Linked DNA regions of Homo sapiens: region 1 is linked to region 2. The links are contacts of gene promoters, found by promoter capture Hi-C in human tissues and cell types (Jung and others, 2019). All regions are on one chromosome and are shown on one strand. Each heading gives the region's core, a stretch centred on a gene start or on the middle of the fragment in contact. The rest is flanking DNA. Distances are from core to core; before and after follow the strand shown. Region 1 overlaps CDC14A (cell division cycle 14A). Region 2 holds the start of FRRS1 (ferric chelate reductase 1).

Region 1 (6,671 bases), core at 1-2,500, 620 kb before region 2:
GTAGAAAATAAAATCTAAAGAGTAAACATTCCACCACTGCTAGTCCATATTTCTCACTACAGATCAATTCCCAAACTGCTAATAATCTCCACCGTCTCTCAATCCCACTGAAAAACTGGTTTGGATTTTCTTTGACAGTGTTAGCATTTCACTGGCCTGATTATAGAAAATAATCATGAAGAAGGTACTTACTGCATAGGCACCTATCAAAAATGCTGCATTTGCTCTTTTCCGTTGGTCAAAACAGGTGTAGTGCACTATTTTCTTTCTTGACAAACTGTATGACTAGAAAGAGGAGATAAAAAGAGTTAGTGTAACCATAGAGACAAAGTTAACATATACAGAAGGCAAACATCATCTCTTAACCTTCAAGATGTGCTACAACCCATAAAATTTAACAACTTTCAACTTTAATTTCTATGGCATTTGAGGGTTAGAGAATTACTAGCTCAGATTTTGTACAGCCCAATCATAATGTAAGAATCAACAATATAATTAATATCTTTCTCTCCCAGAAAAGAAACTAATATGGTGGAAAATAATTAAAATATTGGCATCTCTATTAACTGGAAACATTTTTGACTATTTATTCTAAATCTTCTACAGAAAGTCTCTTCACACTTTGTTACCCCCTACATGCCACTCCAACTCCCAGGAATATTATCTATAGTTTTCATATAACACAATTTTTTAAAATGTCAACCAGTTTACTATGATCTCCAAAAAATCGTATTTTTGAAGACCAATATTAGTATTTTATTTCTGGGATGTTATATAACAACCCCCTTTTAATATCTGAAAATACTTGGTTAATGGAAAAATACCATTAAAAAATTATATCAGCAAACATCTTAATACAACACATTACAATAGCCATCTATTAAATTCATGAATTCAGACAGTTATTAAGCACCTGTTATATGCCAGGCAATATGCTGCATGCTCAAGTATTTAACTAAGTTCAAAATAATCAACATGGTATGTTGTACACATGCTAAACATGAAAAGAAATGACAAAAAGATCTGGTAAAATGAAATCAAATTATTAATCAAAACTCGAATAAGTATAAGACAATGAGAACACAATGTAACTCAATGAAATCTGCTTGATTTCCTCACTTTTCAAAATTTATGTATTTTGACAATTGATTTTCTAAATATAGGTACATAAACTGTCTTTAATGAGCTAGCAAAAAAAACACAGGCACAAAAGTACATTTCAGTATTTGTCTATAAATTCACATTGACTATAAAAGCAGCTTTTTCTATCTTATACATTGACTACAACACACAGAAAATCCCTGCTTTTAGAACCTCTTTAAAAAAGGTAAATAGAGCTCAACTATGTACTTTTCTTGATCCTGCTATTGTCTACAAATTAAAAAAAAACTCTTCCATCTCTGAAGCCCGTTCTAAGATGAAACTGCAACACTCTGGCTTTACCATGTAACCACAGAAAGTGTATCCCTCCAATGAGCCAGGAAATCTTCACTCCAAGTCAGGCATTTCTTTTATAACCAAAAATCATATATATATATACACATATATATATATTTTTTTTTTTTGAGACAGATTCTCGCTTTGTCACCCAGGCTGGAGTGCAGTGGCGCAACCTCGGCTCACTGCAACCTCCGCCTCCCAGGTTCAAGCCATTCTCTTGCCTCCCATGCAGCTGGGACTACAGGCACCCACAACCACGCCCGGCTAATTTTTGTATTTTTAGTAGAGACAGAGTTTCACCATGTTGGCCAGGCTGGTCTCGAACTCCTAGAATCACATTATCTGAAAATGGCTGTACCCTTTTATCTTTTACCTTTTTTTTTTTTTTTTTTTTTTGAGACAGGGTCTTGCTCTGTCACCCAGCACCCAGGCTGGAGCGCAGTGGCATGATCTGGCTCACTGCAGCCTTGACCTCTCAGCCTCAATCGATCCTCTCACCTCGGCCTCCTGAGTAGCTGGGACCACAGGCACATGCCACCATGCCTGGCAAATATTTGTATTTTTCGTAGAGGTGAGGTCTTACCATGTTGTCCAGGCTGGTCTCGAACTCCTGGGCTTAAGTGATCCACCTGCCTTGGCCTCCCAAAGTGCTGAGATTACAGGCATGAGCCACAACACCCAGCCAGTAGTGCCCTTTTTATTAAACTTTTAAAAATTAGTATGTAAGGCCAGGTGTGATGGCTCATGCCTGTAATTCCAACACTTTGAGAGGCCAAAGCAGGAGAATCACTTAGGGCTGGGAATTTGAGACTAGCCCAGGCAACATAGTAAGACCTCATCTCTACAAAAAGACTGGATAGGAGTATCACTTAAGCTCAGGAGATGGAGGCTGCAGTGAGCCATGATCACACCACAGCAGTACAGCCTGGGCAACAGAACAAGAATTTGTCTCAAAAACAAACAAACAAAAATCAAACAAAAAAAATTAGTATTTGACTCAAAGAAAGTATCTTATTGCCAATGCCCTTATTTCCTGACAGGTTTATACAAATACTCCTATGAAATAAAGAGAGAACAAAGGCACAGCATTTAATTCAGCTCAGTTGAGTTGATGCATTGAAGTTACCTAGGGATGTAAAGGTTACAACCAATGGTGCTGACACTTGATTCTTTGCTTTCTCAATTTGGAACTACTGACTGCCTGAACATTGCCTTTTTCTGTTTTATTTCATTGTCTCATTGTCTGTTGGGTGGTTGGTTGGTTTTGCCACTTATTTGTTCCCCATCAATAAGTTATGTTTGATTTACCAAAAAGGAAATAAAGGCTCTTCAGACCTAAGCATCTCCTATCATCTCTGAATTGCAAATATCTAAATACTGCCTTACACAGGCCAGGCTCTCAATAAACATGAGTCAGACTGAGCATAGGGACTCGACGCTCTTATGGCTCCCAGCCTCTCCCTATTTACATTTCCTAATTCCCTAAAATACCTGTGGGGAAGAAAATATCAACAGTCTATCTTCAAGTCTGGATTATCATTTTTGATGCTCTTTTCTACTAAGAATTTAGGTTTTATGACAAACTACTGCTATTGGTTAATAATGTGAAACTGTATTTATTTTACAAATCTACTTGCTGAAAGGGACAAGTTATAGTGCTGTTCTTTCATCACTGATGCTTATTTCTTCCTTGGGTTTTTTTGGAGGGGGTTGGGGGGAGTAGAATCTTTTGTGTTTACTTGGTTTCGTTTTTTCTCTCTCGCATTCTAAAGTATATAGAATACAGAGACTTATCCTGGAACATGAGCCATAAAACTAAAGGACAGAACTCTGAGGAAGACTTTCTTTTCACTGTATAGCTATAAATATTATTTAAGTAAATATAATACAAATTAACACTTTAAAGATTTTAGAAGAATGCTTAAACTTTATAAGCTTTCATAAATTACATCAGATAGAGAATGATCTTCACAAAATCTTCCTAGAAACTTTATTTTAAAATATTTCCTATGAGAAACTCCCCACAGGAAGCAAACATAACTGACTTCTTTTTAGAGCTTTCTGCCTGATTTTTAGGAAAATGTTTAAAGCTGCTAGCATTTACTTTGCTTAGGTATTTTTGGAATTCAGTTTCCTCGGTTAAGTTTCAAAAGCACACCAGCCAAGAAATGATTTCCTGCTTAGCGAAGCTTGGCCAGCATCTCCGAGGTCAAATCACTGAGAGGTGAGTTCTCTCACTCGAGGAATCAAAACGAATTCAAAGTTAATGAGAGCAGAGAAAAATCTACTAATCTCAAAATTAGACCTTGTCCTAATTTCCTAATTAATTTTCTAATTAATCTCAAATTTGCTAATATCAAAATTAGGCCTTTTGCTAATGTCTTTCCTTTTCACAACTGGGCCTCCCTCTTATGGTCATCCTGGCCCACAGTTTTCTACCAGTGATGCTGTTCAACAGAGAAGATACTTTGGTATTGGAATAAAAATTTGAGGGGTAACAAAATATTTTGTCCGTTGTTTAGCTGATGTTTTATATGAGTGGGCTGATTTAAAAAAAAAAAACTCTTTAATGTTTTTTCCTCTCAAATTTTAAGCATGTCCCCCACTTAAAAAATACTATTACATAATCAAAGCACCCTAGAAGAAGCAATACTAACACCCAGTGGAGACATCGATGATTGAAGTACCTTCTATGGAACATTAACTTCTCTTTTGAGATCTTTCATGGAAGAACTTTACCATGCAGACAAAGTCACAGTTTGGAGACAATAGGACAGGACTCTATGTATGAGCCCAGTCAATGTTTTCTCAGATTCTGCCCTAATATCAGGAGAATATCATGCCTCTAAATTGGACAGTGGCCTCTTCCTTACTCTGGTCTGTCTCCTCTGTAGCTGGGACCACAGGAAGGTGTCACCATGCCTGGCTAATTTTTGTATTTTTAGTAGAGATGGGGTTTCACTATGTTGGCTAGGCTGGTCTTGAACTCCTGACCTCAAGTGATCTGCTCACCCCAGCCTCCCAAAGTGCAGGGATTACAAAGCAAATATGATGAGTGGGCCCTTCAAGGAGAACACTTGCAAGGTTACATCATAGCCACAGGCTTTCAATGAGCTACCTGCTCTATTACAGATTATTTTCTGCTTTACACAAGAAGCTCACAGGTTACAAAAACACTGTATGCCATAGCAAAGTGAAGTTTAAAATTGGTCAATTCCAATAAATACAGTGTAAATATAAAATAGAGAGGGTCACAGAAAGAATACTGAGACCTCTGGACTATTTGCCAGCTCTGTAGCAGCACAGCACATGACCCATTACAAATCACAATCTGCAGCCAGCCACTATCCACCTTATGTTTTAGATTTCTATCTTGAAACTGGAACAAATACTCTTCTTTTTTTTTTTTTTAAATACTATCTCACTCTGTCACCCAGGCTGGAATACAGTGGCATGATCTTGGCTCACTGCAACCTCCACTTCCCAGGTTCAAGCAATTCTCATGCCTCAGCCTCCTGAGTAGCTGGGACTACAGGCAGGTGACACCACGCCTGGCTAATTTTTGTATTTTTAGTAGAGATGGGGTTTCACCATGTTGGCCAGGCTGGTCTTGAACTCCTGACCTCAAGTGATCTGCTCACCCCGACCTCTCAAAGTGCGGGGATTACAAAGCAAATACCCTTCTGAACTTTCTAAACTGAAGTGGACATAGCCAGCCCTCTATAATAACCGCAACAACAGCTCGCATTTATTGCTCACTTGTGACATTCCACCATTATCCAAAGCAATAGGAATGGCACCAGAGGGGTCCAGTTTAATCAGACACATAACGTCTCCCAGACTAGGGGTCCTGGGCAAGGCTAAAATATAATGAGCACACTGTGTTTTACAAGGAGAACATAAGCCCAGAGTCAGAGAGGGCCTTTGACGAACATTTACACAGTAAGAGTAGTAAGCAGGATCAGTCCAAAACTTTCTCACAGAGCCTGATAATTTGTGTAAATCTTAATTATGAGGCCATAACAAGTTTCATGCTTCAGAATTTGAATAATTCTCAGGTTGAATTGGTCAATAGTACTAAGACTTTTCAGAAATAACTAAATCTAACTCTAAACCACATTATATTATTATTGTATTATATTTCATTCTCTTAACAGATTGGTTCAGAATCACCTGCAGGGCTTATTAAAACACAGATTGCTGGGTCTCACCTCCAGAATTTCTGATTCAGTAGGGCCTGAGAATTTACATTTCTAACAGGTTTTCCAGTAATGCTGACACTGTTGGTCCAGACACCACACATTGAAATCCACTACTCTAAGATATGGCTAAATTTTGGAGAAGCACTACATAAACATGTAACTGGTCCCACCCCTGGGAATCTTTTATATGAAGCTAAAACACTGTCCATCTGGTCAAGTAGTCTCGAAAGAACTCTACATTCTCTTAAAAAGGAATTCTAAATCATGCAATAAGCCTTTTAAAAGCATTTTACAAAAAACACATTTCCCCAGATTCCTCAGCAAACCTTATTACAATTTGTAAATTCATGCATTCCAGGTGATAACACCTTAGGAACAAGTCCCTTTAATGATTCCGTAATTAAGCTGCCTTAAATGTCATTATTCCAGAAGTTCCAAATTCAGATGTTCTCAGGTGCCAAGAATCTGAAGTGGGGCAGCTGGTAAATAAGAAAAGCATTCCCTATCCAAAGTGCAGTAAGCTCCAACCTACTGCTCTTGTGAGGGAATCTGGGTGCAGAATGGTCAGATACTGCAATATTTAAAAGAAGACAAAATTGAAGCTTTCATAAACTGCAGATGTTGACTATGAATTAAAATTTTTTAAACAGTGTTTAAGCTCAAGAAAACATGTCTGTGGACAGAATGCAGGCCACAGGTGACCAATTTGCTAAATCTGGGTGCCAGGATACTGCGGCTGAAGAAGGTTCTATGGGTTCCATCAGCATGAATTGAGTAGCTGTTGTGTGTCAAACACTTTGCTGAGCAATGCAGTGACAAGGGGAGAAGAAACCCACTCTCTAACCTCAAAGGCTAATGAATATTTAATGCAAAATATTGGCCAAGGCTTATTAAAAACAGAGGAGAATAACTGTATAGGATGCATTTACAGCACACAAGGACCAATAAAATGATACTAATTACAGGTACAGTAAGTGTTTCATTTAACAAGGAAAAAATATAGTAGATAAAAGGTGGAATTTAGTATTG
Region 2 (6,709 bases), core at 2,918-5,417:
CGTGTCTTTGTCAGCCTTTTGAACCTGCTGCCATCCCCACTGGAATTGATAGAGGTTTGGCACAACATCTGTCTGCGGAATCTGGCCATTCATTCATGCAGTTATAAGTAATAAGTAGGTAAGTAAAGATTTTTTTGAGCATAGGAGTTACAAGATGTGAGTTATACTTGAGAAAGATTAGCTCTCCCAGGCTGGGCACAGTGGCTCATGCCTGTAATCCCAGCACTTTGGGAGGCTGACGTGGGCAGATCACCTGAGGTCAGGAGTTTGAGACCAGCCTGGCCAACATGGTGAAACCCCGTCTCTACTAAAAATACAAAAATTAGTTGGGTGTGGTGGTGCACGCCTGTAATCCCAGCTACTCAGGAGGCTGAGGCAGGAGAATCGCTCGAGCCGAGGAGGCAGAGGTTGCAGTGAGCCGAAATTGTGCCATTGCACTCTAGCTTGGGTGACAGGGCGAGACTGTGTCAAAAAAAAAAGAAGATTATCTATCCCATATTATGTGGGATAGCTAATTAGATTGATGAGAAACTGGAAGCATTTAGTAGATAATGACTGTAGTTCAGTTGAGACAACAGTCCAGGACATAAACCAGAATAGTGGCAGTGGAGATGGAGAAGAGGGGGTGAATTTGGCTGTTTGGGTGAGATGAATATAATTAAAGGCTAAGTGAGAATAAGTTTATTTTAGATGGTGGGTTTTGGATGTATTGAGTCAAGGCTGTGTCTAATCAACTGGAGACGTTCTCTTTGAATGTAAACTTGTTTGAAATGCTGAGTATAATAGGGCAGGCAAGTTCCTAAGTTTGGTTCATCAGACCTCATTCAGACTTGGCGGTGGTGCTCAGTGGAGACAGTGGTTCTGGCTTAGGATCCTGTCTACCACTTCTCTGTCTAATCTTCAGCAATTTACTTAGCCACACAGGTCCTTAACATTCTCAGCTGAAGGATGTTCATAATGGATAGGATAATACATGTGCCTTGGTTAAAATGAGTGTTCAATAAATGATAATTATTGTTCTTGCTATACTTTATTTGCCTTCTTCATTCTCATTTTCTCATGAATATACAGTGGAGTTTTCCAGTGGCTACATGAGGTGTTACATGATATCACAAAAGATTGAATGCAAGCAGATATGAGAATCCTACTGTCTTCTATTAAGCCAGACATTAAAGAGATTTGCAACAATTTAAACAATGATACTTTTTCTTTTTTTTAGACTAGTCAAATGCTATACTTTTTCATTAAATTTTTTATTGTTGAAAAACAATAATATAAGCAACAGAAAAGATACTGTGTTAACATGTAACTATTATTGTCACTTAAAAACAAATTTATGAATATTTAACTTTTTCTGTTAATTTTTAATACAAAAATATTAATAGATATCACCCACATAAAGAAGCATCTCTGATGTACATAATAATCTTTCAAAGTTGTGAAGGGACCTTGAAATAAAAAAAGTTTGAGAACTGCTGATATAGAGGCATGAGAATGGTAACCAGTAGGGTAGCTTTAACTTCTTAGGATCTAAGCTCCATTAAACTAATTTTAATAAAATTGGTCTCCTTTGTGACAACTGATGAGTTGATGAAGAGTCTGGTAGAGGTGATCTGGAAGGGAATGATAAGGTGGAATTATAGCTGGGGACATGGAGAGAAATGATAGTCTCAGAAGGGGTGGTGTTTTATTTATTTATTATTTATTGAGATGGAGTCTTGCTCTATTGGCCAGGTTGGAGTGCAGTGGTGTGATCTCTGCTCACTGCAACCTCTGCCACCCAGGTTCAAGCATTCTCCTGCCTCAGCCTCCTGAGTAGCTGGGATTACAGGCGTGTGCCACCACATCTGGCGAATTTTTGTGTTTTTAGTAGAGACAGGGTTTCATCATCTTGGCCAGGCTGGTCTTGAACTCCTGATATCGTGATCCACCCCCCTCGGCCTCCCAAAGTGTTGGGATTACAGATGTGAGCCACTGAGCCTAGTGAAAGGGTTGTTTTAGACAAAGCTAGCCTCTCTCTCCATTCAGTTCTTCCCACTGTGTCGTACCACTTCCTAAGAGTGCTTTAGAATGTAGGGTTCTGATAATATAGTCGAAGAGTTTTTGTTTTATAGACATATCATACTTTTGGCATGCAATGGGGACAGTTCCTGGAAAGGGTCTGTTATCTGCAGAAGGCTATTTCACCACTTGAGGCTTTGAAGAACTGAAGATCAGCTGACTTAGTTTAAAACTATTCATGTTCCCAGCAGCTTTAGGATAGCAAACCAACTCTGGGTCATCTTTATTTAAAGCCTCTCTTTAATAACCTGTAGAGAGGGGCTTTTGTTAATTGTGACTAGTTCTTTAAGAGAAAGCGTAACGTGATGGTGTTCCTTTCTCTGTTCTCTCTTTAAAAATGGTTTAAAGAATTTACTGGGGTTGATTGATAACCAGCATTCACAGGTCAAGGCATGGGTCATAATCTATTTTCCAGTCTGCATATGTTGAAAGCGCCTTTGCAAAAAGGCTTTTTGCAAAGCCTTTTATAACTGAGGAAATTATGGCAGTGAATGAGAACAGACCTAACTGGCTCTGTCTTGCTTCTAATCTTTAAGCTGTCCTTGTTCATTCCTGGGCATATGCCAAACTAACTTTGGGAAGGAATCCAGTTCATGTTTTGACTCTGAAACAAAATTGGTAGTAGCCCTTTCCTGAATAGACCCCCTTCTTGCCTGGGGACCAGTCTGCCTTTGCAGGACCAACAAATTAGCTACAAGATTAGAAATTATGGTTTAGGGGTCATGCAGCCTCTGGCTCCAAGAGTCTGAACCTCCCCAAATTGCTCCTGGGGATAACATCACTATTGTAAAACCTAAGATCAGTGCTTGAGATATTTTGCAGAGCCTGGACTCGGTGGATCAGCTGATGCCACACAGACCGGTAATTGGGCTCACCCAGTTCTGCCATCCCACCCAGGAACAGAAGACAGCAAGAAAACCTCACGTCGACCCCCCATGATTCCATCTCCAATCTGACCAATTAGCACTCCCACTTCCCAAGCCCCTACCCGCCAAATTATCTTTAAAAATTCTGATCTCCGAATCCTGGGGAGACTGTGTTGAGTAATAATAGAACTCCGGGCTGGGCGCGGTGGCTTATGCCTGTAATCTCAGCACTTTGGGAGGCTGAGGCAGGTGGAATCACTTGAGGTCAGGAGTTCCAAACTAGCCTGGCCAACATGGTGAAACCCTGTCTCTGCTAAAATACAAAAATTAGCCGGGCGTGGTGGCGGGCGCCTGTAGTCCCAGCTACTGGGGAGGCTGAGGCAGGAGAATCGCTTGAACCTAGGACGGGGAGGCTGCAGTGAGCCGAGATCATGCCACCGCACTCCAGCCTGGGCCACAGACAGAGACTCCGTCTCAAAACAAAACAAAACAAAACAAACAAACAAACAAAACAAAAAACTCCGGTCTCCTGCACAGCCAGCTCTGCGTGAATTACTCTTTCTCCATTGCGATTCCCCTGTCTTGATAAATCGGCTCTGTCTAGACAGCGGGCAAGGTGAACCCACTGGGCAATTACAATGTCACTCAAGGTCTGAAATGGAATGTTTAATATTTTCAATTACATTAAAGAGAAGAAAAAAAGTAAAAAACAGGAAAACAAAAAACAAAATAAAAACAAAGATTGTTAAAAATTCAATTACATTGTCTTTTCCTAGCCCTAAAATTTTTCTTTTGCAAAAGAGTCTTGTGAAACAGATTAAAGGCTTAAAAAGAAACAAAACTCCTAAATTTCAGGGGTAATTTGCAAAATAAAAGATTTCTTTTGCATTATATCATTCACACTGCAGAAAGGTTTCGGTTCTATGCAATCTGATCTTTTTCCACTTTTTAAAAGTTAATTTGCTTTTACTTAGCACTATTATAGAACAGGTATTTTCAAATAGTTTTGCAATTAAACACAAAAACTATAATTTTTGTGGCGAAGTAGGTACTAGTTGGCAAACACTGTTCCTTAGTGTAAAACAGAATTCTAAGTTTTCAGAAATGGAGTCCTAAAACTAGCACTGGTCTTGCAAATCAAGTTCTGCAGCTTAGTTTGGGAAAGGTTCCCTTTTGGCTCAAGGCTTAACTGGCTCCACCCAGCTGCTGAAATGTGATACAAGTTGTAACAAAACCGGAAGTTGGTTAGGCTGCCTTCGCTTCTCAAGGTAAGTGTCACGTCTTTTTCCTTAATGTCAAAGCTCTTTGTAAAGCGTTAAAAATCAAATCCAGCTTAGCGACAGACTGGAGAGCGAGTGCCTGTGCTGACCAGGGCAGTCGGCCAGGCAGAACGGGTGCTGTATTCCGAAACTATGTTCTGGAGCTTGAATTGAGCTAATGAGTGTTCACTAACGAGTTAGGTTAATATGTCCTGTGACTTTGACTAACAAGCTTTAATTCCAAGATATGGGTGGTTATAAGTAGAGACGTGTTTGGGATCCTGAAAATCATTGACTTTATTCTTGCAGGAGTTTTTTTTTTGTTTTTAATTTTAAATTTAAAACTGTAGGAACTCTTTTTTTATATTTAAAGCTAGTGGCATGGTTACCTATATCAGGGTCACTTAGAACCTTATTTGGTTTTTAAAGTGGCTTTTTATCTAGAACTTTTAGTCCCCTTACCCTCCCACTCCCTAGCCCTGGTGTGTCGTTAAAATTTCAGAAAGACTCCAGGGTGGCAAGGTGTTATCACTGCACTTATTTTTGTGTGTGCTTGTCATACTGCCCTAAAGGGTAAAGGGGATTTTTCAAATTGTAAATGTGTTATTAGGAATATTTCTTAACATAGCTAAACTTTTCAGTTCAGATATTTTCATTTGCTTCTGTATTTTTATTTTTTATTTTTATTTATTTATTTATTCATTTATTTTTGAGACGGAGTCTCGCTCTGTCCGCCAGGCTGGAGTGCAGTGGCGCGATCTCGGCTCACTGCAAGCTCCGCCTCCCGGGTTCAAGCGATTCTTCTGCTTCAGCCTCCTGAGTATACTGCTGGGATTACAGGCGCCCGCCACCACGCCCGGCTAATTTTTTGTATTTTTAGTAGAGACGGGGTTTCACTGTGTTGGCAAGGATGGTCTCTATCTCCTGACCTCGTGATATGCCCGCCTCCGCCTCCCAAAGTGCTGGGATTACAGGCTTGAGCCACCGCGTCTGGCCTATTTATTTATTATTTTCGAGACGGAGTGTTGCTCTTGTGGCCCAGGCTGGAGTGCAACGGCGGGATTTCGGCTCACTGCAACCTCTGCCTCCCGGGTTCAAGCAATTCTCCTGCCTCAGCCTCCTGAGTAGCTGGGATTACAGGCAGGCACCACCACACCCGGCTAATTTTGTATTTTTAGTAGAAACGGGGTTTCTCCATGTTGGTCAGTCTGGTTTCGAACTCCCAGCGTCAGGTCATCTGCCTGCCTCGGCCTCCCAAAGTGCTGGGATTACAGGCGTGAGCCACCGCGCCCAGCCACTTCTGTATTTTTAAAAAAGTGGTAAGATTTGAGTATTATACTGGGATAGAACTGAAGTTGGGGGCTTAATTTGATCTATCAGCTTATTGAAAACAAAGACCTTTTAAGAGATGGTTTTGTTAGGTTGGAGAAGTGAGTTTTAGTTCGTCATTTAGTTAGCCAGTATGTTGATTTTTTTGGTGAAGTGTACTCTCTGTTTCACACCTGTCAGCTTTTTTAATATTGGATTTTCTCAAAATTCACATAACAATCACACTGTATGAGTACTGTTTTGAAGGTTGTCTGCTAGTCAGAATGAATGGAGATCAATGTGTAGGACACCTTTACTGATATCCAGAGGTTTACCAAAAGACAAGTCACCAAATGTGGCAGAAAAACATGATAAAATTTATTAGGAAAAACTAAAGCTTATGGAGTGAACAGTTATTTCAGGTTGGTGGAATTAGGCAAGAATCCAAGAAAGGAAGACAGTTTTATATGGGAGACTTTGTTAATGGTGGTCATTGTGCTAGATATTTTGGAGATAGTATTTTATTTAATCCTCATGCAAGCCATTGATATTGGTGGCATTGTCTCTAACAAGTGAGAAAACTAAGACTCAGTAAGGTTAAATAATTTGTCCAGGGTCACTATGGTGGTGCCTGCTGGATTACATTAATGGACAGATTCAAACCTAGGTCTGTGATATTTCAAAGTCCATACACTTCATTGTATCATAGGACAGTAGTTGACGGCGTTTTAAATGGATCTTGAAAGAGGGGTGAAGGTCTTCTTTATCAAAACAAACAAAAATAGTAAAAGTAACATAGAATGTTTGAAAATAGAAAAAAGAAAATATCTAACCACCTTCAAATCAGTTTCTGTACAGTCTTACATGTACATACTTTGTAGTGTTTTTTGAAATTATAAAACACTACATGCTTTAAAAAAAATGCACATTATAAAGGGCATTAAAGAAAGGAAGCCCACTCTTCCCATCCTGAAAACACATACCTTCCTAAGGGGTAAACACTGTTGAGAACAATTGGAAGCATGTATAAAGGTTTTTTTCTTTTCCTTTTAAGTTATGTATATTTTGGTACATTCCATATCATTTTGCAGTTTTCTTGTTTTGATTCCTCAGTGGAGCATGAGCATGTATCTTCTTAACATGCAGATTCATGTCTTGGGATTTTTGTGAAATGAGTTCATACTTGCAAAGTACTTAAAACAATGCCTACCTCCT

What was found. Contacts are between HindIII fragments. The study calls those that stand out against the background at their distance.
Region 1: a contact is called between a fragment that was not itself captured here and the fragment with the promoter of FRRS1 in region 2, in 1 of the 25 tissues and cell types used here (lymphoblastoid cells).

Annotation. Positions count from the first base shown.
Region 1 is chr1:100,384,346-100,391,016 of GRCh38, reverse strand. CDC14A (cell division cycle 14A) reads right to left here. Exons shown (of 16, transcript NM_003672.4): 4 at 193-285. Among named protein-coding and RNA genes, the nearest start is that of CDC14A, 35 kb to the right of the region's middle. The HindIII fragment of the contact is 4,505 bases long and covers 1-3,502 here.
Region 2 is chr1:99,764,093-99,770,801 of GRCh38, reverse strand. It overlaps FRRS1 (ferric chelate reductase 1), which reads left to right and starts at 4,167. Exons shown (of 17, transcript NM_001361041.2): 1 at 4,167-4,195. The HindIII fragment of the contact is 12,687 bases long and covers 1-5,155 here.